Regions from separate parts of the Homo sapiens genome. Here region 1 is linked to region 2. Evidence: promoter capture Hi-C in human tissues and cell types (Jung and others, 2019). All regions are on one chromosome and are shown on one strand. Each heading gives the region's core, a stretch centred on a gene start or on the middle of the fragment in contact. The rest is flanking DNA. Distances are from core to core; before and after follow the strand shown. Region 1 overlaps TDP1 (tyrosyl-DNA phosphodiesterase 1). Region 2 holds the start of TTC7B (tetratricopeptide repeat domain 7B).

Region 1 (3,723 bases), core at 937-3,436, 830 kb after region 2:
ACCTGGGCTCTGCCCACCTCTTCCAACCCACATCCCTCCATGCTCCCTCTCACTTGCCAAACCTTCCTTATTGCTCCTCTTACCTCTGCACCTATATATTGCTTTCTAAGACTTGATGACAAGAGTTAAGAATTCTACTCTTAACGGTTAAAGCAAATCCATGCTACTAGTGGTAATCCCAAGCAAGAATTTGCCCTTGTCTGCATCAATGCAGCTCTTCAGCCAAATGTGAAATAAGAATTGTGTTATCTATACCAAAAGTGCATGTGAAAAATCTATTTTCAATTAACAAACCCATTTTCATAACGTAGGTCCTATAGCAGCATATTTTTATGTCTTATACTTTCTGGTGCCTGGATTAAGTATATATCACATTCAGTGACATTACAATAACCTCAAACTTTCAACACTTAATTCACTGAAGAAGCATTACAGACATCTTTCATTTCATTAATTCTTTTTCCCTAGAGGAAAACAATGCTCTTTGCCAAAACTTCTACATTATATCCATAAATAGAAAACAATCATATCTAATCCCAATCCTTCTATAAACTGCTCCACAGTAGATTACTAAAATGGCTTCAAACCTCTTGTGCTTCAGTTTCTTCAAATGCAAAAAAGTGGGGTTAACAAGGCTGCCTCACTGGGCTGTTGCAAAGCAATGACTTACAGGAGCAGTCAAAAGTATCAGGTGTTACTTTTTTCCCCTTCTGTGGCTACTCTCCTTTTCCCCACCCTGGGTTCTATCTATTAAGCTGAAAGAGAAACTGCCCAATTTCTCTTTCACCTGGCAGCCCCTGAAGGAGACTGGCAAGATGCAGGCCACCAGGGCAGAAGGCATCCAGAACTGCAAGGACTCTCGGCCGTACATCTTCTCAACTCTGCAAGTTTCTAGCAAGGGGCATTTCATACCCCTGCTTCCCACCCTGGGGAGACACTTAGCACAGGAGGTAGCATGGTGTGATGAGGGCTGGAGCCCATGTTCTGGACCCAGATCGACTAGCTGACTATACCATTTTGGGTAAGCTCTGTGATCTCTCTGGGCCTTTGCCTCCGTGTGTAAAATGACCAGGTTGGGCTGGACAGACGTGGAGGACCTCCCCTTGCAATAGCACCTCAAAGTTCCCAGGCTGAGTGAGGCTCCTCCTGGATCAGAGATTCACTCACAGGTGAGTTCTGGATGAGAAACAAGACAAATGACTTTCTAAACTAAGATGCTGAGATATGAGGCATTTTTAACACATCACAAAATGAGAAAATTATTATAATGAGCCAAATAATTTTATTTTATTCTTTACTGTGAGCTTTGGATGCAACTCTTGTTCTAATTTTAAAAAGTGAGAAATCAACAGGTGGATCATGAGGCAGCTGAAGGGGATTAGCAGAACCACAGTAGACCAATTATGAAGTGAGATTGTATACAAAAACTGCTTTCAAAAGTTTTAAAATTACCACAAATAACATGAAATGCAAAACATTAGAGAGTAGAATATAGGCCAAGCATGAAATAATAGGATCCCACACCAGGATGGCTGCCAGAGGAAGATTTCATAGTCTTGGTACTTTCTGAGTTTTGAACCGTTCCTACCTAGTCAATAAGTTTTCCAAAATTTTAAATTAAAAAATACTTTTTTTAAATAAAAGAAACACCCAAGCCCTTATCCCTGCCTCTTCCCTCCTGGCAACCACCCCAGAGAATCCCAAGACAGTACTACTGCCTGTAAGCTAAGCTTCCAACTTCAGAAGGAGCTGGAGGCCCAGGGTGGGATTCTTGGAACCACGTGAGGCTGAGAGCTAACCTGAGAAATCCCTTTAGTAACATTGTTTCATGAGAACAAGCTACATTAATCTCATTGCCTTTTGATAGGGCCACATGAATCCCCAAACCCAATCTGGCAGCTCAGGAGAACTGGCTTAGAAGCTCTTGGGGTACCAAAGGCATAGTTAACCATAAATTCAGTAGATCAAGAAAGTGCTACAGCTGAGACTTAGAGACCAAGCAGCTATCCCCTCAACCCTGGACCAGTCAGAGCCACACTTCATTTTGAAAAGCATATTTTCAGTGGGATACTGAAAAATTATAACATGTTTATAGAAAAGCGACCAGGAATTACAGCTAGGGGTCTCAAAGCCACATGCTATGGTGGGGCAAGGGAGTGGGGAGGGAACAAGAGATGTAAGGCTCAGAAACAAGACTCCCTTTCAAACTCTGAAGGACTGCTTTAAGGGAGGGAGATTACATTTGTCCTGCGCAGTGCACTCAGGTTGAAGCAAGACCTGTTGAAGGAAACTGGAAAGCTATTTCAGCTCAAACTAAGATGTAACTTGGGGCCAGGCACGGTGGTTCATGCCTGTAATCTCAGCACTTTGGGAGGCTGAGGCAGGCGGATCACTTGGCAACTAGGCAAAACCTTGTCTCTACAAAAAATAAAGACAGTTAGCCAAGTGTGGTGGTACGTGCCTGCAGTCCCAGTTACCCAGAAGGCTGAGGTGGGAGGATCACCTGAGCCCAGGAGGTTGAGGTTAAAGTGAGCCGTGATCGCATCACAGCATTGTAACCTGGGTGACAGAGTGAGACCGTCTCAAAAAAACAAACAAAACAAAGATGTAACCTGGGCTCAGCAGAGCTTAGCTGAAAGTAATACACTCCAAATTAGGAGTTCTAGCCCAAGCTAGGCAATGATATGGGGCAGGGTGAGGCAGAGGAGGATGACAGAGAAAACGTGAACCTGGAAATGGTGCTAGACAAACGTCCGAGTTTCTCCCAACACAGAAGGCTGTTTGTTAACCAGCTCTTCTCTAGCACAGGCAGAGATGTACAAAATGGCTTAAACAAAAGAAAATTAAAGTTAGTCATAATCAAGAACAATAGCTGAACTTGTTGAGCAAATCCCTAAAGCTCCCTTTTAAAAAGCAAACCCCTCTTGAAAAGGGGATCAAAACCTGGATCTAGCATATGTGCACCAAGTACAGAGGGTTAGTAGTTTAAAAAGTTCATAAAAGCTTTCGTATTCAGTTCTTCTCTTGGAGATTCACAACTTTATTAACACACTAAAGGCTCTAAAAAGACACCAGCTTAAATTTGTTTCAAAGAAAATACACCAACTGGGGGAGTGGGGAAATATTTAGCACACTATTAACATGACCAGGCCCTACCCCAACTTTTCCTTTGATTCCTGTTTGGGAAGTGGTAAGCAAAAATACAGGTGGGTACATGAGTAAGGAGAAATCACAAAAGCTATCTGGTAAATCCTACTAGGAAAACAATAGGTTCAGATCTTTCATTCTGTAACCCCTTTTCTGCCTCAGATCTCTGCATGTGCTGTGCCCTCTACTTAGCTGTAGAGTGTATATGATGCCACTTCTCTAAAAACTAGGAAGAGACTACTGTGTGTAAATAGTAATGTATGTTTACATGTACAGCAGAGGTAGCTGTGGATGATGATGCTCCTGTTAACACTGGTTACCCCAAGAAGGTAGAATGGGGCAGGTAGTAAAAGAATACAGTAACTTTTTCTGCATACAACTCTTTTTCTAGGCCATGTGTGTTATTTTTACAACTTAAAAAAAAAATAGAAAAAAGAATAAAGTGAATGTTCTGGCTTTTGACCTTTATCAACACACACACTGCCAGGAAGTGAGCAGGCCCCTACGAACCCTTGAGTTTTCTGGTGCCAGTCAGCATGGATGAGGTTGGAGGTGTGTATGACAACCCGGAGGCCT
Region 2 (3,597 bases), core at 252-2,751:
GGTCTCGATCTTCTGACCTCGTGATCCGCCCACCTCGGCCTCCCAAAGTGCTGGGATTACAGGCGTGAGCCACCGTGCCCAGCCAAAAGCCAAGGTCTTATAATGGCCCACCAGGCACTACACAGAACTCCCCCCAACCTCTCAGAGTTCATCTCCTGCCTCGGCCCCTCTCCTTCGCTCCACCCAGCCCCTCTGGCCTCTGCCATTTCTCCATCCCACCCAGTGTGCTCTAACCCCAGAGCCTTCGCACTTGTGGTGTTCTCTGCCTGGGATACTCCTCCCCCAGAGATATCCTCATGGCTCCCCCTTAGTTTCTTCAAGTCTAATGCCACCTCCGTGAGGCCATCCCTGACTGCTCCATTTTAAATGGCAACACTTGCTCAGGCTGAAGTGCGTTCACTGCTCACTGCAGCCTCCACCTTCTGGGCTCAAGCAATCATCCTGCCTCAGCCTCCTGAGTAGCTGGGATTACAGGCATGAGCCACCCGCCTGTCCCAACTCTTTATGTTCCTCACTGAACCCTTCCCTGTTTCTTCAAATAGCCATTTTTACAGTCTAGTTTACTATTTTATTTTGCTTATTTTTCCCCCAAACTGGAATGTAAGCTCTCTCAAGCCAGGAATTTTGTTTTTTTAGCTCACAATTCTATCTCTGGCACCTAAAGCAGCGCCCAGCACATAGTAGGTGATCACTAGACAGTTGATTCACTGAGAGAACACAGAGGGACACCTCCCTAGGTCTCAGTCTAGGTGGCCAAGACAGGAGGCCCCACCAGTGACTGTGCCTTCCCCTCAGGGGGTCCGAGAGCTGGCGTGTGAGAGTGGCAGCCCCTGCCTGGCTCCGCTCAGCCATCTAGGGCACCCCTGGCAGGTGCTGTGCCTTGCCTGGGATGGAGGAGTCTCCGTCCACCTCTGGCTGGGTAGGGGCTAAGGCTGCGGGGCAGAGGGGCATCTGCTAAGGGGCACAGGCCAACCGGGCCCCAGGGAACCGCTGGCCACCTGAGATGGCAGGACAAACTCGGGCAGGCCTCCCCCCACCCCTCACACCTGGCTCACTGGTCCCACCGGGCGGTGACCTTCCCCAGGGTCACTGCCCTTTCTTGGCCCTACTCCTGGGGATCCAACCCGCTCCCAGGCTGTCGCTAGCTCCCTCCCGATCCTCTCCCTCCCCTTCATCCTGCCCAGACCCCTACCCCACCAGACCCCTCACCCGCCCTTGGTCAGATCTCTCTCCTACCCCGCTCCCCCACCCCCATCCCCACTTCCCCTCGGTCTTCACCCCGCCCCAGACACCCCCAGTCCCTCTCCCTGTCCTCCATGCCCACCCCGCCTTTCCTCCCTCGGGCCCCTGTCTCCCGCCCTAGCCCCCGCCCCTGCCCCAGCCCTGGCTCCGGCCCCGGTCAGTGCTGCGGCTCCGGCCCTGGCCGGCAGGGGCCGCTCCTCGCGGCGCCCGGGGCCCCGCCGCGCCCGCCGCCGCCGCCCGCCTCCCCGCCCCTTCCCCAGCCGGCGCTCCCGTTACGCCGCGGAGCCGGGAGCCGGAGCCCGAGCCCGCGGCGGCGGCGGGAGGCGGCGAGGGGGCGCCGCGGCGGCGGCGGTGGGGCCTGCGGGGCGGGCGGCCGGGCCCGGCCAGGCCGCGATGGCGACCAAGAAGGCAGGCTCGCGGCTGGAGACGGAGATCGAGCGCTGCCGCTCCGAGTGCCAGTGGGAGCGGATCCCTGAGCTCGTCAAGCAGCTGTCGGCCAAGCTCATCGCCAACGGTACGCTCCGGGCGCGCCGGCCTGGGCTGCGGGGGGCGCCGCGGCCTCCGCGGGAACGGGCCCCCGAGGCGCGGCCGGGCGCGGGGCGCGGGCAGGGGCGCGGCCGGGCCGCGAGGGAGCTGCGGCCCAGGGGATGTGCGCGGGACCGGGGCCTGGGGGAGCCCGGGTGCCCCGGAGTCACGCGGTGTGGGGGCCCGGGGGGGCGCCAGGGGCTGTCCCGGCGCCTGGGGTTCAAGCGTGCAGGGCGGGCTTCTGCGGAGTCTGGGGTGTCCGGGGGTCTCAGCGAGTCCGCTGCTCCACTGGGACCACAGGAGGTCAGGGGCCGGCCTGGGGCTTCCAAGAAGTTGGAGGTGATGGGGTGAGGGGGTCCCTCAGGACATGGGTGAAGTCCACAGTGTGTGTATGGTGTGCTCAGGGAATCAGGATGTGTTTATGGGGTCTTGAGAATGGGGTGTTGTACATAGACCCCTGGGGAATCTGGTTTGTAAACATATGGTGTTTAAGGGGTTCTGGGTGGAAGCGCAGACTCGAGGTGTGTGGGGTGGTGGTAGAAAGCAGGCTGGGATGTGCGTCCTGGCGTTCGGAGAAGTAGCATCAAGGCTGCCGACCTAGAGAGGTCAGGGTTGGGAATAGAGGAGAAATAGAGTCAGGGGGACCTGGAGGGAGAATATTGTGGAGCGAGATGGGAATGTGGTTGAAGAATGTCGGGAGATGGAGTTGGGTGGGTGAGGGGTTGGTGCCTGGGCCAGAAGGGGGTCTGAGGCAGCCTCTGAGTAGGAGCCTGGTGCCTGGAGTTGGTTCATGACCCCTTTAACTGGATTGGTTCTTGTACCCAATCAAATAAAATTGCATCCAGAATCCCATTCCAGTGCACAGCTCCACGTGGCCTTATTTGTTTTGGAAGCGAGTATCTTTAATATTTGCTTGTCTTTTAGTACCCGCCTAAAGCGCAGGCACCAGCACACCGTGGCCAGAGGGCAGAGGGTTTGTCTCATTTCATCCTGGGCTTCCCCAGGCCCAGTGAGCACATGTTGGCTGAACAAATGAATGAAAGAGTGAATGAATGGATGGCGGGGCTGCTCTAAGAAAGGACATCTGCACTATTTTCAACCTTCTCACTTCAGACTACCCAGAAAGGAGAGGGATGTCAGGTGTCCTCCTGGAGGGTGGTTTATGTTTGTGTCCTATGGTATTAGTGCCTGGAAATTAGAACTTGGTTTTGCGCACTCTCAATGATGGATGCATGCTGTGGGCAGGTACCTTCTGGGTGAACGCAGGTGCCATGGTGTGTCAGGGGCATGGAGATAGCACCGACCCTACACGGGCTCCACTTGGTGGAAAATGTGGACCCTTCTCAGTTATGTCAGCCTTTGAGGAGATGGTGTTCAGTGCCCTGGGCCCCAGAGGCAGCTTGCCTTTGCCCTCCGTGTCGGGCTCACCTGCTTCTCCGCTTACCTGCAGCATTTTCTCTTTTCCTCTCGGAGTTGCACAGTCCTGGGTCTACTTTGTGGCTTCCCAGCGGTGTAGGCATAATGACACCTTCTGTGCAGGTTGATTTTAGGATTAAATGGGTTTATTTGTGAGCCTCCTGGTCTTTTTTCTTCTGAATCCACTTGTTTCCTGCTGTCTTTGCTTATTCATTCACCCAATATTTGCGTGCCCACCTGTGCCAGTCACAGAACAGTGGTGAACAGCACTGACCAAGCCCCTGCCCTTATGCCCTCACCCTGCTCTCAGGAGGCAGGTGATAAGCAAATATGGAAATAAATAAACAGCACAGCTTCAGATAGTGAGAAGTGATTGAAACAAAACAGATGAGTTAATGTGATTGAGAATGACAG

Evidence for each region. Contacts are between HindIII fragments. The study calls those that stand out against the background at their distance.
Region 1: a contact is called between a fragment that was not itself captured here and the fragment with the promoter of TTC7B in region 2, in 1 of the 25 tissues and cell types used here (dorsolateral prefrontal cortex).

What each region holds. Positions count from the first base shown.
Region 1 is chr14:89,980,567-89,984,289 of GRCh38, reverse strand. TDP1 (tyrosyl-DNA phosphodiesterase 1) reads right to left here. Exons shown (of 17, transcript NM_018319.4): 8 at 3,658-3,723. Among named protein-coding and RNA genes, the nearest start is that of TDP1, 27 kb to the right of the region's middle. The HindIII fragment of the contact is 3,146 bases long and covers 614-3,723 here.
Region 2 is chr14:90,814,334-90,817,930 of GRCh38, reverse strand. TTC7B (tetratricopeptide repeat domain 7B) reads left to right here and starts at 1,501. Exons shown (of 20, transcript NM_001010854.2): 1 at 1,501-1,756. The coding sequence starts at 1,636. RefSeq lists a silencer at 1,328-1,507. The HindIII fragment of the contact is 18,929 bases long and covers 1-3,597 here.